Regions from separate parts of the Homo sapiens genome. Here region 2 is linked to region 1. Evidence: promoter capture Hi-C in human tissues and cell types (Jung and others, 2019). All regions are on one chromosome and are shown on one strand. Each heading gives the region's core, a stretch centred on a gene start or on the middle of the fragment in contact. The rest is flanking DNA. Distances are from core to core; before and after follow the strand shown.

Evidence for each region. Contacts are between HindIII fragments. The study calls those that stand out against the background at their distance.
Region 2: a fragment that was not itself captured here is called in contact with the fragment with the promoter of CSPG5 in region 1 in 1 of the 25 tissues and cell types used here (bladder).

What each region holds. Positions count from the first base shown.
Region 1 is chr3:47,574,385-47,581,786 of GRCh38, reverse strand. CSPG5 (chondroitin sulfate proteoglycan 5) reads left to right here and starts at 2,922. Exons shown (of 5, transcript NM_006574.4): 1 at 2,922-3,190; 2 at 3,859-4,954. The coding sequence starts at 3,094. RefSeq lists an enhancer at 1,593-2,297 and silencers at 3,422-3,471, 3,512-3,571, 3,622-3,711, 5,314-5,608. The HindIII fragment of the contact is 21,614 bases long and covers 1-7,402 here.
Region 2 is chr3:48,138,888-48,146,289 of GRCh38, reverse strand. No RefSeq gene overlaps it. Among named protein-coding and RNA genes, the nearest start is that of CDC25A, 46 kb to the left of the region's middle. The HindIII fragment of the contact is 7,474 bases long and covers 1-7,092 here.

The sequences.
Region 1 (7,402 bases), core at 1,673-4,172:
GAATAAAACATCCAAACCATATCAATGTTAGTGGTTAATACTGAGGACTTAAAGCCAGGAATTTCCAGTCCACACAGCTATGCCCCCAGCCATGGCAACTGGAGCACTCCTCTGGACTGCAGCCCCCTGGTCAAGCCGGGGGTTTTTCATGCAGTCGGAGGCTGGCTGCATTCGTGGCAATGGACCTTGAGCCTACCTGAGCTCTGGAGGCAGGCTGCCAACCCAGTAAGAACCTCAGAGGCATGAAGAAACTGTTGACACATAAAACATCCCTGATGCCCAGGTGCAAGAGACATAAATACGGGGACATGGATATAAGGACGTCAGTTTCCCTTTCTTTCACTCTGTGGTTCCTACATCTTCTATCTCTTCTTTACCCTACCACAGTCCTGTGCTCAGAAGAAATACTCATTTGACTCTCTGGTTACCAAGCATTTTCACATATGAGAGACAGGTTGCTAACTCAAAGTCACGCTGCAGCTGAATCCTGCCCTTCCCATCACGTTCCACTGACTGAATTTTCCCATTCATCTTGTGGAGGTGTTACCCAACCAAGTGTGCTATGCTCAGTTCTCAAACTGCTAGTGAGATCCACTAGGGAAGATCAGAATGAAACTGAGTGGCAACAATTGATTTAAAGTCTCAAGTTGGGCCGGGCACGGTGGCTCATGCCTGCAATCCCAGCACTTTGGGAGGCCAAGGCGGGCGGATCACCTGAGGCCTGGAGTTCGAGACCAGCCTGAGCCAACATGGAGAAACCCCGTCTCTACAAAAAATACCAAATTAGCCGGGCGTGGCATGCCTGTAATCCCAGCTACTCGGGAGGCTGAGGCAGAGAATCACTTGAACCCAGGAGGCAGAGGTTGCAGTGAGTCAATATCACACCATTGCACTCTAGTCTGGGTGACAGAGTGAGACTCTGTCTCAACAAAAAAAAAAAATTCCAAATTGAAGGAAGCGTTAGCAGACTTCATCTCCAGGAAAGGGAAGAAGAAGATACTTAAATAATTAACAAAATATATTTAAAATGAGTGGGAGAACTTCCTCCATTAAACCCTGTTGAAAATGTGTGAGTGGTTGTCATGCCCCAGACATCAAGGAACCCATCCATGAGGTCTTCCCACACAGACTGGCCTCAGGAAGGGAAGGAGGAGGTAGGCCGCTCTGACAGCCACAACCCGAGTTGAGGAAACAAGCAAAGGAACACAGAGAGTCTACATACAGTAAAAGGTGACAGGAGTTAAGCTGCACACAAGGGAAGCAGAGATGGGTTGGAGGCAGTTAAGGGTGCGTTGCTGCCTCTGTGGCTGAGGTGAGTGCAAAGCCCTACATGGTCCCCTGTTTAGAGAAGGCTATTGTTTCAAACATATTTTACTTGGTCCCCGGAGGCAGCATGAAACTATGAAAGAAAGAGCCTTACCCCTTTTTTCAAGGCTCTCCAGACCACAGTTCTGGGATGGGTGTGGGTGGTTGCCATTCGTTCATTTATGCCTGTCTGATATGGAGCCTCCCTCTGTTACCAGCCCTGTGCACTCAAGTGCCTTGCAGTCCAGTGAGGAATAACTGTAGATAAGATGAGATGATGGGCATTAAGTGTAACTGCTGAGAAGCCTTCATAGAGGGAAAGGTGATAAGAACTGAGTTTTTCTGGCATGAGGAGTTTACCAGGCAGGAGAGGTGGAGACGCTAGGCTAGGCAAATAGGCTGCAGCCATAGTTCTGCTGAGAAACAGGTTTTGAACCAAGGCAACTCCATCTGGAGATATGTATCAGAAAGATTAGGAGATAGAATCTCCATCTTGGTCACTTATTTGGTCTTCTAAGACAGCAATGGGACCGTCTCTTAAATACTGGAGTTGTCCTATCTCCTTGGGCTGATACCCTGAACTGTCATTTGGGTGAGTAACACATTAAGGGGTAGACGGTCGGTTTGGGGGAATAAACTAAGTAACTAGGTTGCGGTTCCTCCTGCCGACTAAGCAGACCTCCTGGTGCGTGGTCTTGGGTTGCCCTGTGAGCCCTGAAGCTGTGAATGGGCCCCACAGATCACTCTAAAGCCAAGCATCCATGTGTGCCCGGCTGGGGATCTAGACCCCCCTGGTCTACCCAGGAACCTGAGTTTTGGTGGTCTGAGACACCTGGGGGACGACGTATCCCGGAGAAGGGACCAGGATTAAAGGCCGCTCCCCAGGCTGCCCGGAGACTAGAAGGAAGGCGAGGTAGCCGCAGTCCCAGGGAGGGTCTTACCCCTTGCTCCCGGGATGCGTTATGGCGGGCCTGGCTGTGCGAGATCTAGGCTAGTGGCTTTGGCTGCGAACGGATTAGATCTGATCCGATTAGAGCCTGGGCGGTCGGCTTCGCCCCCTTGCCAGGCTCTGCCAACGCCCGCCCCTCCCTCGTGGAGACCCGGAGACCTCCCTGAGAGCCTTCCCGCCCGGAACACGGGATTGGTGCAGAATCCGAGAGGCTCCATGCGCCCCGGGCCTGGCTTGTTTCCACAGTGGGGGCTCGTGCTTCCGCCCCCTGCGGCTCTTCTGGACCCCGCCCCGACCCTGCGGGTAACTGGGCCCGCGACGTCCCCGCCTCCGTGCTTGCCGCGTGGCGGGTGGGTTCCTCCGGGTCGGGGCCCCGTGCCGCCTGTTCACCTGGGGCGGGACCGTGGCCCCATCCCACAGGTCTCCCGCCCGTGCACCTGCCGCCTAACGCCGCGCGCCGCGCCGTGCGCCTGCCTCGCGCTCCCCGTCCGCCTGCCCCGCACTCCCCGTCCGTGTGTCTCCTAGTCCCCAGCGAGGGGTCTGTCTGTTCCCCTGGCAGGCTGACCAAGGGGCCGGCGTCACCGCTACGTGCGGCGGGGCCGGCGCGGCGGGCGGGGTGAGGGCGGCGCTGAGCGCAGCGGCGGCAGCGGCGGCGCGGGAGGCGGGGAGGCGCGGCGCGCCGGGGACAGCGGCGGACGGCGGCGGCGGCGGCATGCGGCTCCTCGCGCTGCCCATCGTGGGCTGAGGCGGCCGCAGAACCGGCGGGAGGCGCGGCGGCCGGGCGAGCCGAGGGCGCAGCCAGCCGGGCGGACCGCGGACAGCGGTCGGGGCGCCGCGCCATGGGGCGAGCCGGGGGCGGGGGCCCGGGCCGGGGGCCGCCGCCACTGCTGCTGTTTCTGGGGGCCGCGCTGGTCCTGGCCTCTGGGGCCGTGCCGGGTAGGTATGACTGCGCCCGGGACCCCCGCGGCCCTCGTGCCCCACCCAGGGCAGGGGTCCCGCTGGCGGCGGGGACAGGTGGAGCTGTGAGCTGTGGCAAGGGGGCGGGGCACCGCCTGGCCGCGGCCGGGCGGCGGAATGGTCCCAGGAGGTGGTGGGGGTCCGGGAAAGGCCGACCCGCGTGGGGGCCGACCCCGGTTGGGGTAGCCGGGACCCAAGCGCGCGGGCCGCGGTGCGGACTGGGGGCGGGGCCGGGGGCGGGGCCGGGGCGGGGCCGGGGCGGGGCCTGAGGGTGAGACTTCGGGGCGGGACCTGGAGCTGAGGGCGGGAGCCAGTGGACGCGGCTCAGGGTGGGTTCCCGAGGGTGAGACTTATGGGTGGGCCGAGCTGGGGGCCGCCCTGGCCTGGCTCTTCAGACGGCGGGGCAGGTCGGGCGGGGCCGAGCCGCGAGGCGTTGGGCGGGGTGTGATCCTCGTCTTGGGGGCAGACTCCGGGACGGGGCTTAGAGGTACCGGGTGGCTGGGGTCACACTGGGGCGGTGGGGTCTGAGGGTGGCGAGGTCTGGGTTGACCAGGTCTAGGCGAGCGGGCCTGACCGGGGCGGGCCGGGGCTCCAGGGCTCCTCAGCGCGCCGCCCTGACGTCCCGCCCCTTGCCCTCCCGCCCGCAGCGCGTGAGGCGGGCAGCGCGGTTGAGGCCGAAGAGCTGGTGAAGGGCAGCCCGGCGTGGGAGCCGCCTGCCAACGACACGCGGGAAGAAGCCGGCCCACCAGCGGCTGGGGAAGATGAGGCGTCGTGGACGGCGCCCGGTGGCGAGCTGGCCGGGCCAGAAGAGGTGCTGCAGGAGTCGGCTGCGGTGACCGGCACCGCCTGGCTGGAAGCTGACAGCCCAGGCCTGGGAGGAGTGACCGCAGAGGCGGGCAGCGGCGATGCCCAGGCCCTTCCAGCTACGCTCCAGGCTCCCCACGAGGTCCTCGGGCAGTCAATCATGCCCCCTGCCATTCCTGAGGCTACAGAGGCCAGCGGGCCACCCTCCCCCACCCCCGGCGACAAGCTGAGCCCAGCTTCTGAACTCCCCAAGGAGAGCCCCTTGGAGGTTTGGCTGAACCTGGGGGGCAGCACACCCGACCCTCAAGGGCCAGAGCTGACTTACCCATTTCAGGGCACCCTGGAGCCCCAACCGGCATCAGATATCATTGACATCGACTACTTCGAAGGACTGGATGGTGAGGGTCGTGGCGCAGATCTGGGGAGCTTCCCAGGGTCACCAGGAACCTCAGAGAACCACCCTGATACTGAGGGAGAGACCCCTTCCTGGAGCCTGCTTGACTTATACGATGATTTCACCCCCTTCGATGAATCTGATTTCTACCCCACCACATCCTTTTATGATGACTTGGATGAAGAGGAGGAGGAAGAGGAGGATGACAAAGATGCAGTAGGAGGTGGAGACCTAGAAGATGAAAATGAGCTTCTAGTGCCCACTGGGAAGCCTGGTCTGGGGCCCGGGACAGGCCAGCCCACCAGTCGGTGGCATGCTGTCCCTCCACAGCACACTCTGGGGTCGGTCCCCGGCAGCAGCATCGCCCTCAGGCCCCGCCCAGGAGAGCCAGGCAGGGACTTGGCCTCCAGTGAAAATGGCACTGAGTGCCGCAGTGGCTTTGTGCGGCATAACGGCTCCTGCCGGTCAGTGTGCGACCTCTTCCCAAGTTACTGTCACAATGGCGGCCAGTGCTACCTGGTGGAGAACATAGGGGCCTTCTGCAGGTAAGGGCATGGCAGGCAGGTGCATAGGGACACTGAAGAGTGTATGTGAGGCCGACTCAACAGAGGGCAGCGTAGCCGGGCGCGTTGGCTCACGCCTGTAATCCCAGCACTTTGGGAGGCTGAGGCAGGCGGATCTCCTAAGGTCAGGAGTTCAAGACCAGCCTGGCCAAGTTGGTGAAACCCCATCTCTACTAAAAATACAAAAAATTAGCTGGGCGCGGTGGCAGGCACCTGTAGTCCCAGCTACTCAGGAGGCTGAGGAAGGAGAATCATTTGAACCCGGAGGGTGGAGGTTGCAGTGAGCCAAGATCGTGCCACTGCCCTCCAGCCTGGGTGACAAAGTGAAACTCCATCTCAAAAAAAAAAAAAAACAAAACAAAACAGAGGGCAGCGTGACAGGCACAACTTGCAAGAGGTTGTACAGTCGCAGGATTCCCAGGTGGAGAAATGTTCACTCAGGCTTCTTCTACAGAATTACTTGGTAAAATGCACTTCCTGTGACCTTATCACTAGGAGAGGTTCCTCAGAAATAAGATTATGTCTTTCCTCTGTGTGTTGTGTCCTTACCCAAACCCTCAATTACAAAGGCAAAATGAGGCCGGGCGTGGTGGCTCACGCCTGTAATCCCAGCACTTTGGGAGGCCGAGGTGGGCACATCACCTGAGGTTGGGAGTTCGAGACCAGCCTGACCAACATGGAGAAACCCTGTCTCTACTAAAAACATAAAAAATTTAGCCGGGTGTGGTGGCACATGCCTGTAATCCCAGCTACTCGGGAGGCTGAGGCAGAATTGCTTGAACCCAGGAGGTGGACGTTGCAGTGAGCCGAGATCACGCCATTGCACTCTAGCCTGGGCAGCAAGAGCGAAACTCTGTCTCAAAAAAAAAAAAAAAAAAAAAAAAAGGCAAAATGAAGGGAATTCTTTAAGAGTTTTGGAAAAAGGGCTGGGTTGAGGGGTGTTTGCTGGAGGGTTCTGGTGGTACTGGTGAGAGGGGTAGGCCCATAAACCTACTCTGTGGGATAAAGACAGCTGTTGAACACCGCTCCATGCCTTGTGCTCGGCGGGAGGAGGGGCCAGTTCCCTGGAAGGAATGTAGGCACGCAAACTCAAAAGGGAGGACCTTCTTGGAAACAGACCCCAAAATGCAGCCACTCACACAGATAAAATCAAGCTGAGAGTCTTCGCATTGCAGATGTGCGGGTGTTTCTTGACTTTGGGAGGTGGCTTTTTTCTTTCTACTTTGATGTTTGTCTACCTTGGGATATCAAATCCATAATCCTTTTAAAGACTCAGAGTTTAGTTTTCCTAAGGGCATTGTCTGTAGCTCATCAGTAATTACCCTACTCACCTCACTCTTAGGAACTGTCCTCACAGTGAGGTATTTAACTTGCTGGAGAGCTTGCAGCCTGATTCCGGAAGAATCCCAGGGTGGGGTGATCAGGTGGTTTGCTTGTCTCCATCCTTTACAGGCTGTAGAAATGGAGGAGAGCCCTCAGACTCCTTTGAGGGTTGTCTCCATTAGTCCTAGATGGAGCATTTCTGTCATCTGTGTGTCTCTTTTTATTTTTAGTAGAGATGGGGTTTCACCATATTGGCCAGGCTGGTCTCAAACTCCTGACCTCAAGTGATCCGCCCACCTCAGCCTCTCAAAGTGCTGGGATTACAGGCGTGAGCCACCACGCCCGGCCAGGGTATCTCTTTTTCAAGTGTCATTCTCCATCCTTCTTGTTCTTGTTCGTTCTGCAAGTATATGATGAATTCAAGTTCCTTAGGTCTTGATGTAGTATATCAGAGAATAACATGTAGAAAGCAATGAGTATTTTGTCCTTGGCGTTGTAACTTAAGTTCCAGTTTCTTTCTATGAAGTTCTTTTTTTTGTTGTTGTTGTTTTTAGAGACGGAGTCTCACTCTGTCGTCCAGGCTGGAGTGCAGTGGTGCAATCTCGACTCACTATAAGCTCCGCCTCCCAGGTTCATGCCATTCTCCTGCCTCAGCCTCCGGAGTAGCTGGGACTGCAGGCGCCCGCCACCACGCCCAGCTAATTTTTTGTATTTTTAGTAAAGACGGGATTTCACTGTGTTAGCCAGGATGGTTTCAATCTCCTGACCTCATGATCTGCCCTCCTTGGCCTCCCAAAGTGGTGGGATTACAGGCGTGAGCCACCGCGCCCAGCCGAAGTTCTTTATTATAAATGGTCATGACATTAGGGTCACTCATAGGATGTGACCACACAGTTCTTGGAGTGGTCCAGCCATTGCCAGAAGGAGGTACTATGATTAAGAAATTGTAGCAATTTTATTTTTAAAAAGAAAATATGGCAATAAACTAACTTGCCAGTTGATTAAGGGCTACCAGAAATATGAGGAAACCCTGTGATTTTGCTCCTCAAAATTCAGTTTGGGGGACTATAGTGATGATTTCAGCCTGGGGGCTGTGCAACCTCTCTG
Region 2 (7,402 bases), core at 2,106-4,605, 560 kb before region 1:
TTGCAGTGAGCCGAGATCGTGCCATTGCACTCCAGCCTGAGCAACAAAAAGCGAAATCCCATCTAAAAAAAAAATGGCAAAACCCCATCTCTAGTAAAAATACAAAAATTAGCCAGGTATGGTGGCAGGCGCCTGTAATCCCAGCTACTTGGGAAGCTAAGGCAGGAGAATCACTTGAACCCGGAGGGGGTGGGTGGAGTGAGCCAAGATCACACCATTGCACTCCAGCCTGGGCGACAGAGTGAGACTCCATCTCAAAAAAAAAAAAAATTACAGTCTCATGCTTGAGGGGATGGGCACTCTATTCCCCATGATGCACTTATTTCACATTGCATGCCTGTATCAAAACACTTCATGTACCTTGTAAATATATACACCTACTATGTACCCACAAAAAAATTGAAAATTTAAATAAATAAATAAATAAATTATAGTCTCAGCTGGGTGTGGTGGCTCACACCTGTAATCCCAGTGCTTTGGGAGGCTGAGGCAGGACGATTGCTTGAGCCCAGGATTTCAAGAGCAGCCTGAGCAACATAGTGAGACCCCTGTCTCTATTTTAAATAAATGTAAATAAATTACAGTCTCATGTATTCTGTTATAGCAGCATAAAACATATGTTAGAGGCCGGGCGCGGTGGCCTACGCCTGTAATCCCAGCACTTTGGGAGGCCAAAGCAGGTGGATCACGAGGTCAGGAGATTGAGACCATGCTGGCTAACACAGTGAAATCCCATCTCTCCTAAAAGTACAAAAAATTAGCTGGGCGTGGTGGCGGGCACCTGTAGTCCCAGCTACTCAGAGGCTGAGGCAGGAGAATGGCATGAACCCGGGAGGCAGAGCTTGCAGTGACCTTAGATCACTCCACTGCACTCCAGCCTGGGCTACAGAGCGAGACTCCATCTCAAAGAAAAAAGAAAAAAAAAAAACATATGTTAGAATAACTTAGATATATTTGAATAATACAGTTGTCCCTTGGTATCTGTGGGGAGTTGGTTCCAGGACCCCCACTGATATCAAAATCCAAAGACGCTCAAATCGCTTATATAAATGGCATGATATGGCCAGGCACGGTGGCTCACACCTGTAATCCTAGCTCTTTGGGAGGCCAAGGCAGGAGAATCACTTGAGGCCAAGAGTTCAAGACCAGTCTGGGCAATATGGCGAAACCCTGTCTCTGCTAAAAATACAAAAAATTAGCTGGGTGTGGTGGTACACACCTGTAGTTAAACAATTTTCACCTGTTCTCTTTATTGCAGGGTTTCTCAGAGCGCTTGGCCTGCCAGCATGCATCATGAATTTCAAGAGACGACAGAGCATTTTCCAAACCTATTTGCCCATGGAGACTTTTCTCCATGGAGTATCTCATTGGACTTAAGTTCCTGAGGACTAACTTTGGGGATGCTGTTTTCTCTTCTATGTGGCCATTTTCATTTGATTCTCACAGGATGGAATTCACCCTCATTTTATGGATGCAAACACTCATACTCATGGAGGTGGGTGAGTTGCTTCCGGTACTCAGTTAACAAACAGCAGAGACGGAAGTAGATGTTTGGGCTTCAGGTTCTAAGGCCAGACTCTTTGTTTTTCTTTTCTTTCTTTCTTTCTTTCTTTCTTTTTTTTTTTTTTTTTTGAGACTCACTCTGTCACCCAGGCTGGAGTGCAGTGGTGCAATCTCGGCTCACTGCAACCTCCACCTCCCAGGTTCAAGCGATTTTCCTGCCTCAGCCTCCTGCGTAGCTAGGATTACAGGGATGCGCCACCATGCCCGGCTAATTTTGTATTTTTAGTAGAGATGGGGTTTCTCCATGTTGGTCAGGCTGGTCTCGAACTCCTGACCTCAGGTGATTTGACCTCCTCGGCCTCCCAAAGTGCTGGGATTACAGGCGTGAGCCACCGCGTCTGGTGGCCTAGACTCTTTCTTGACTTTCTCCCACTTTCAAGTCACCTTCTCAAGAGATGGGCTGCTGAGCTTGCTTCTCAGGGAGGTGGAGAGTAGGCTGACTGGTGGGAAGTTGGAAGGGGAAATTTCAGGAAGCCACCGAGCGCGAGCTTCAGAGTTAGTGATAGGGACAGAGCTCTGTGTTGGACTTTCCAGGCCTTAGCCTGGTAACTCCTGCTGCCACCAAACATGAAGCCTCTGCTCTGGCCCCACCTACCTCACTGACAAGCCCTGCCTCTGGCTGCAGAATGGTGAGTGAGACAGGGAAATTGTGGGATAGGTGGAGTTTCCAGGAATACTGGGGTGAGGAAACACCCCCAGGCCTGAGCCCCGATGGAAAGAGCCCCACAGGAGTGGGTCTGGAGGGAAGAAAATCCTTGAAGGCCTGAGCCATTGTCTCCTTTCTGCAGGACACTGGGTCCACCCCACCAAGGAACTCAGTGGTCCCTGAACAAATGGGAGATTATTTTCAGGGTCCTTTATAGCATTCTTTGGCTATTTTTGTCTTCTCTTTTTGTTAAAAGTACATTCACACAGGACATTTCCTTCCTCTAACACAAAGCAGCACAGAATGGTGGGAAGGGTGCTGGCTTGGCATCGGCCGCCTTGCAGAGCACTGGGACAGGTTGCTCACCTCTGGCCTTCAGTTCCAAATTTGGGCTTCAATTTACTGAGTCCAGAAGCAATCTCTTGGTGACACCAACATTAAATTTCTTCTTCTTTCTTTCTTTTTTTTTTTTTGAGACGGAGTTTTGCTCTTGTCACCCAGGCTGGAGTGCAGTGGTGCGGTCTCAGTTCACTGTAACCTCTGCCTCCCAGATTCAAGCGATTCTTCTTGCCTCAGCCTCCCGAGTAGCTGGAATTACAGCCATGGGCCACCACGCCCAGCTAATTTTTGTATTTTTAGTAGAGACTAAAGGTGATCCACCCTCCTCGTCCTCCCAAAATGCTGGGATTACAGGCATGAGCCACCGCGCCGGCCCAACATTGAATTTCTATGAGACTTAATTTCTGGCTGGGCGCAGTGGCTTACACTTGTAATCCCAGCACTTTGGGAGGCCGAGGCAGGTGGATCACTTGAGGCCAGGAGCTCGAGACCAGTCTGGCCAACATGGCGAAACCCTGTCTCTACTAAAAAATACAAAAATTAGCTAGGCGTGGTGCTGGGCGCCTGAAATCCCAGCTACTCAGGAGGCTGAGGCAGGAGAATCGCTTAAACGCCGGAGGTGGAGGTTGCAGTGAGTCGAGATGGTGCCACTGCACTCCAGCCTGGGCGATGGAGTGAGACTGTCAAAAAAAAGAAAGAAAGAAAGAAAGACTTAATGTACTAATTTATGGCAGGAAGACCCTGCTTTCCCTCTCCTTCCTGACCTCATGATGGGTCCTGAACCAATAGTTGAGAATAAAGGAAGAGATTGGGGCCACTTGATCTAAGTTTGATGAGTGAGAGAAATTGTTCCCACATCTGGGCAGAGGGCACCTCCTGGGTACTCAGGTTCTTGGGCATCATGTCTCTCCCTCGATCCAGCTGGCCATGCACAGGCATTTTTGTTCTCCTGAGCCCTGGTTCTAGATGGGTTAATGCTGTGATTCAGCTGCAGTCTAGTCTCAGCGCTCCTGAGCTTGGGAGACACCCTGTCTCTCCCCTGCTCCCCACCCCACGCCTATGCTGCACCTCGAGGGCAAGGGTAGCAGGGCCGATGGAAGCTGAGGCACCTCACCTGCCTGGCATTTGCCAGTGCCCAAACAGCTGGGTGTGCAGGAGGAAGAATGAGGAGCCTTGGCAGCTGCCAAGCTACCCAGCGGGGGAGGGAAGGTGGCCAGGTGCGGCTGAAACAGGGTGCGGTGACTGGTCTGGGAGCTCCGAGGCCTGCCCAGACATCTGGCTGGGTCAGGAGGGCCAGGTGTGCTAAGAAGTGTGGGCTGCCCCAAAGCACAGGCTACTGAGCACCTCATGAGTGTAAGATTTGGTGAGCGCCTGAGCGGAGGAGGGGATGGGTGGATGGAAACTTCAGATTCATTATCTGTAAAGTGTGGATAAATAGCAGGGTGGTTTGAAAATTAAATGACTTAGACCAGCCTGTCCAATATGGTGAAACCCCATCTCTACTAAACATATAAAAATAAGCTGGGCGTGGTGGCATATTCCTGTAATCCCAGCTACTTGGGAGGCTGAGGCAGAAGAATCGGTTGAACCCGGGAGGCGGAGGTTGCAGTGAGCTGAGATCGTGCCACTGCACTCCAGCCTGGGCGACAAAGCGAGACTCTGTCTGGAAGGAAGGAAGGAAGGAAGGAAGGAAGGAAGGAAGGAAGGAAAGGAAATTAAATGACTTAATACATATAGGGTACGTAGCACAGTTCCAGTAAGTTCTCAAAAGTCCCAGGTATGATTATGATGAGTCCAGCACATAGGGTTGGGCAGGTTCAGTGTCTGATTCATCTGTTATCCTCTGTGTAACTACAAAAACAACAGACAAAATCAAGACAGCAGCAAAAGTCATCTCCCTCGAGTCCTCGTGAAACCCTATGAGGCAGATACCATTATTGAGCCCATTTTCCAGATGGACAGACAGGCATGGTGAGGCCACCATAATCAGCTAAGGCTAAGCCATGAAGCAGCTGTCCCCACAGAGGGCCTGCCCCATACTCTGGCTGAGGCGAAGGTCGTTCCTCCACCCTCTCCCACTGCCCACCACCCGGTCAGAGAAGCCTGCTGAGGCAGATGAGGAAACAAGGAACCAAGAGGTGACAGGCAGAGCCAGGAGCAGGTATTCTTCCCTCTGAGTGGCCTCTCCAAGCAGCCTCCACCAGACCCTGCCCTCATTCCTGAGCTCATCTCCCACTCTACCCCTCCACTTCTCCCTCTCTTCCTAGTTGGGTCATCTAGGCCTCTTGCCCTCCAGGAAGTCTTCCCTCAGCAGCCTGCCTGTCGGGGGAGTGCTCTATGGAGCACTCTCACCCTGGGTATCACTATGGAAGTGAGTGAATGGAGCCCCTTCCTTTTCCACATGATTTTGGTGAACCACAGACAGCCTGGGAGATACTCCCCAAAGGTGCTGGCCAAAGCCAAGAGACAACTAAAATAACTATTAATATTTACAGAAAACTTCATCCAACAGTTTTTTTGTTTTTTTCATATGGGGTGTCACACTGTTGCCCAGGCTGGCGTGCAGTGGCATGATCTCACTGCAGCCTCAACTTCCCCAAACTCAGGCAATCCTCCCACCTCAGCCTCCCACAGTGCTGGCCAGGAGATCACTTGAGCTCAGGAATTTGAGACCAGTCTGGGCAACATAGTGCAAACCCATCTCTACAAAAAATACAAAAAATTAACCAGGCATTGTGGCTCATGCCTGTAGTCCCAGCTACCAGGGAGGCTGAGGTGGGAGGATCACCCAAGCCTGGGAGGTGGAGGCTGCAGTGAGCCAAGATCACGCCACTGCACTACAGCATGGGTGACAGAGTGAGAGCCTGTCTCAATAGTAATAATAAATAAATAACTAAATAACTAATTAAATAAATATATAAATAAAATAAAGCTCCAACTTGCTTCTTCCCAAGTGAGGGTGTCCTCACCCTCAAAGGAGCTGGTAGGGCTGTGCTGGGGTCGTGTTCCCTGCTCGCAGAGAGCTTGCACTGCAGAAAGACCATAGCTCTGTGTCCCTGTCTGTGAAATACACACTTTATTGTGATGTAGAGCAAATGCTTGTAAAGCTCTGGACACAGAGTTGTCGCTCCATGCACGGCTTTATTTCTCAGCACAAATGCTAATTTCCCTTCCAAATGCAAAGCTTCTCAACCTCTCAAGCAGTTTAGATTGTCTGAAGGTCACAGCAAGGTCTCATGTTCCGTTTTGCCCACTGGCCTTTCCTGCCTCACTTCCTGCCTCCCTGTTCGTCCTCGGGTCCAGGCAAACTTCTCAGCGTTCCTCAACAATTTGCCTGTTCACAGCTGTGTGTCCCTGAACATGCTGCTCCCTCCGGTGAAACACCTGTCCCTCCCCTTCTTTGCACAACAAACTCCTGCCAATCTTTTTCTCTCAGTTCAATCCTCCTCCAAAGCTTCTTCCGACTCCCCTGGGCAGTGTTAATTATTCCTTCCTCTGCTCTCTAGGGGTTTGTCCATATGATTATTTTTTTTTAATTTTTAAATTTTAATTAAAAGAAAAAAAGATGAGCCAGACGTGGTGTCTAATACCTGTAATCCCAGCACTTTGGGAGGCTGAGGTGGGCGGATCACGAGGTCAGGAGATCGAGACCATCCTGGCTAACACGGTGAAACCCTGGCTTTACTAAAAATACAAAAAATTAGCCGGGCGTGGTGGCAGCCACCTGTAGTCCCAGCTACTCAGGAGGCTGAGGCAGGAGAATGGCGTGAACCCGGGAGGCGGAGCTTGCAGTGAGCCGAGACCACACCACTGTGCTCCAGCCTGGGTGACAGAGCGAGACTCCGTCTCAAAAAAAAAAAAAAAAGGAGACAGTGGGTCTCAACCACGGATGACCTCCACCTCCTTGGTTCAAGTGATTCTCCTGCCTCAGTCTCCCAAGTAGCTGGGATTACTGGCACGCGCCACCATGCCCAGCTAATTTTTGTATTTTTAGTAGAGATGGGGGTTTCACCATGTTGGTCAGGCTGGTCTTGAACTCCTGACCTCGTGATCCGTCCGCCTCAGCCTCCCAAAGTGCTGGGATTACAGGCGTGAGCCACCGCGCCTGGCCAGAGATGTAGTCTTGCTGTGCTGCCCAGGCTGATCTTGAACTTCTGGCCTCAAGCAATCCTCCTACCTCTGCCTCCCAGTGAGTTGAGATTATAGGTGTGAACCACCAAGCCCGGCCTATATATTTTTTTATTATTATTATTTTTGAGATGGAGTCTTGCGCTATTGACTGGGCTGGAGTGCAATGGTGTGATCTCGGCTCACTCCTGCCTCCACCTCCCGGGTTCAAGCGATTCTCCTGCCTCAGCCTCCTGAGTAGCTGGAATTACGGACACCTGCCACCACACCCAGCTAATTTTTTTGTGTTTTTAGTACAGACGGGGTTTCACTATATTGGCCAGGCTGGTCTCGAACTCCTGGCCTCGTGATCCGCCCTCTTTGGCCTCCCGAAGTGCTGGATTACAGGCATGAGCCACCGCGCCCAGCCATGATTATTTTAGATTATATTTTAATCCATAATTTCTCTCATTTTTTTCCCGACATCTCTGGCTCTTTCTGTTCTCTGTAGAGTTGACCTTAGAAAAACTGAGGTTGGCAGAGGAGTTGAGCATTTGTCAGGGTATCAGAGTGTCACAGTTCAGCTGGGCCCTGTTTGTTGGAAGGCTCAACATCATGTTTGATGACCCCTCCTCAAGTTGGTGGCCAAGAAGGAGCCACATTTTGCTCCTAAGTATTGTGATTCCCAGTGAATCCTGCCCACACACCTAGGCGTGGCATGGCCCAGAGGCTGCGTGTCTCCATGCC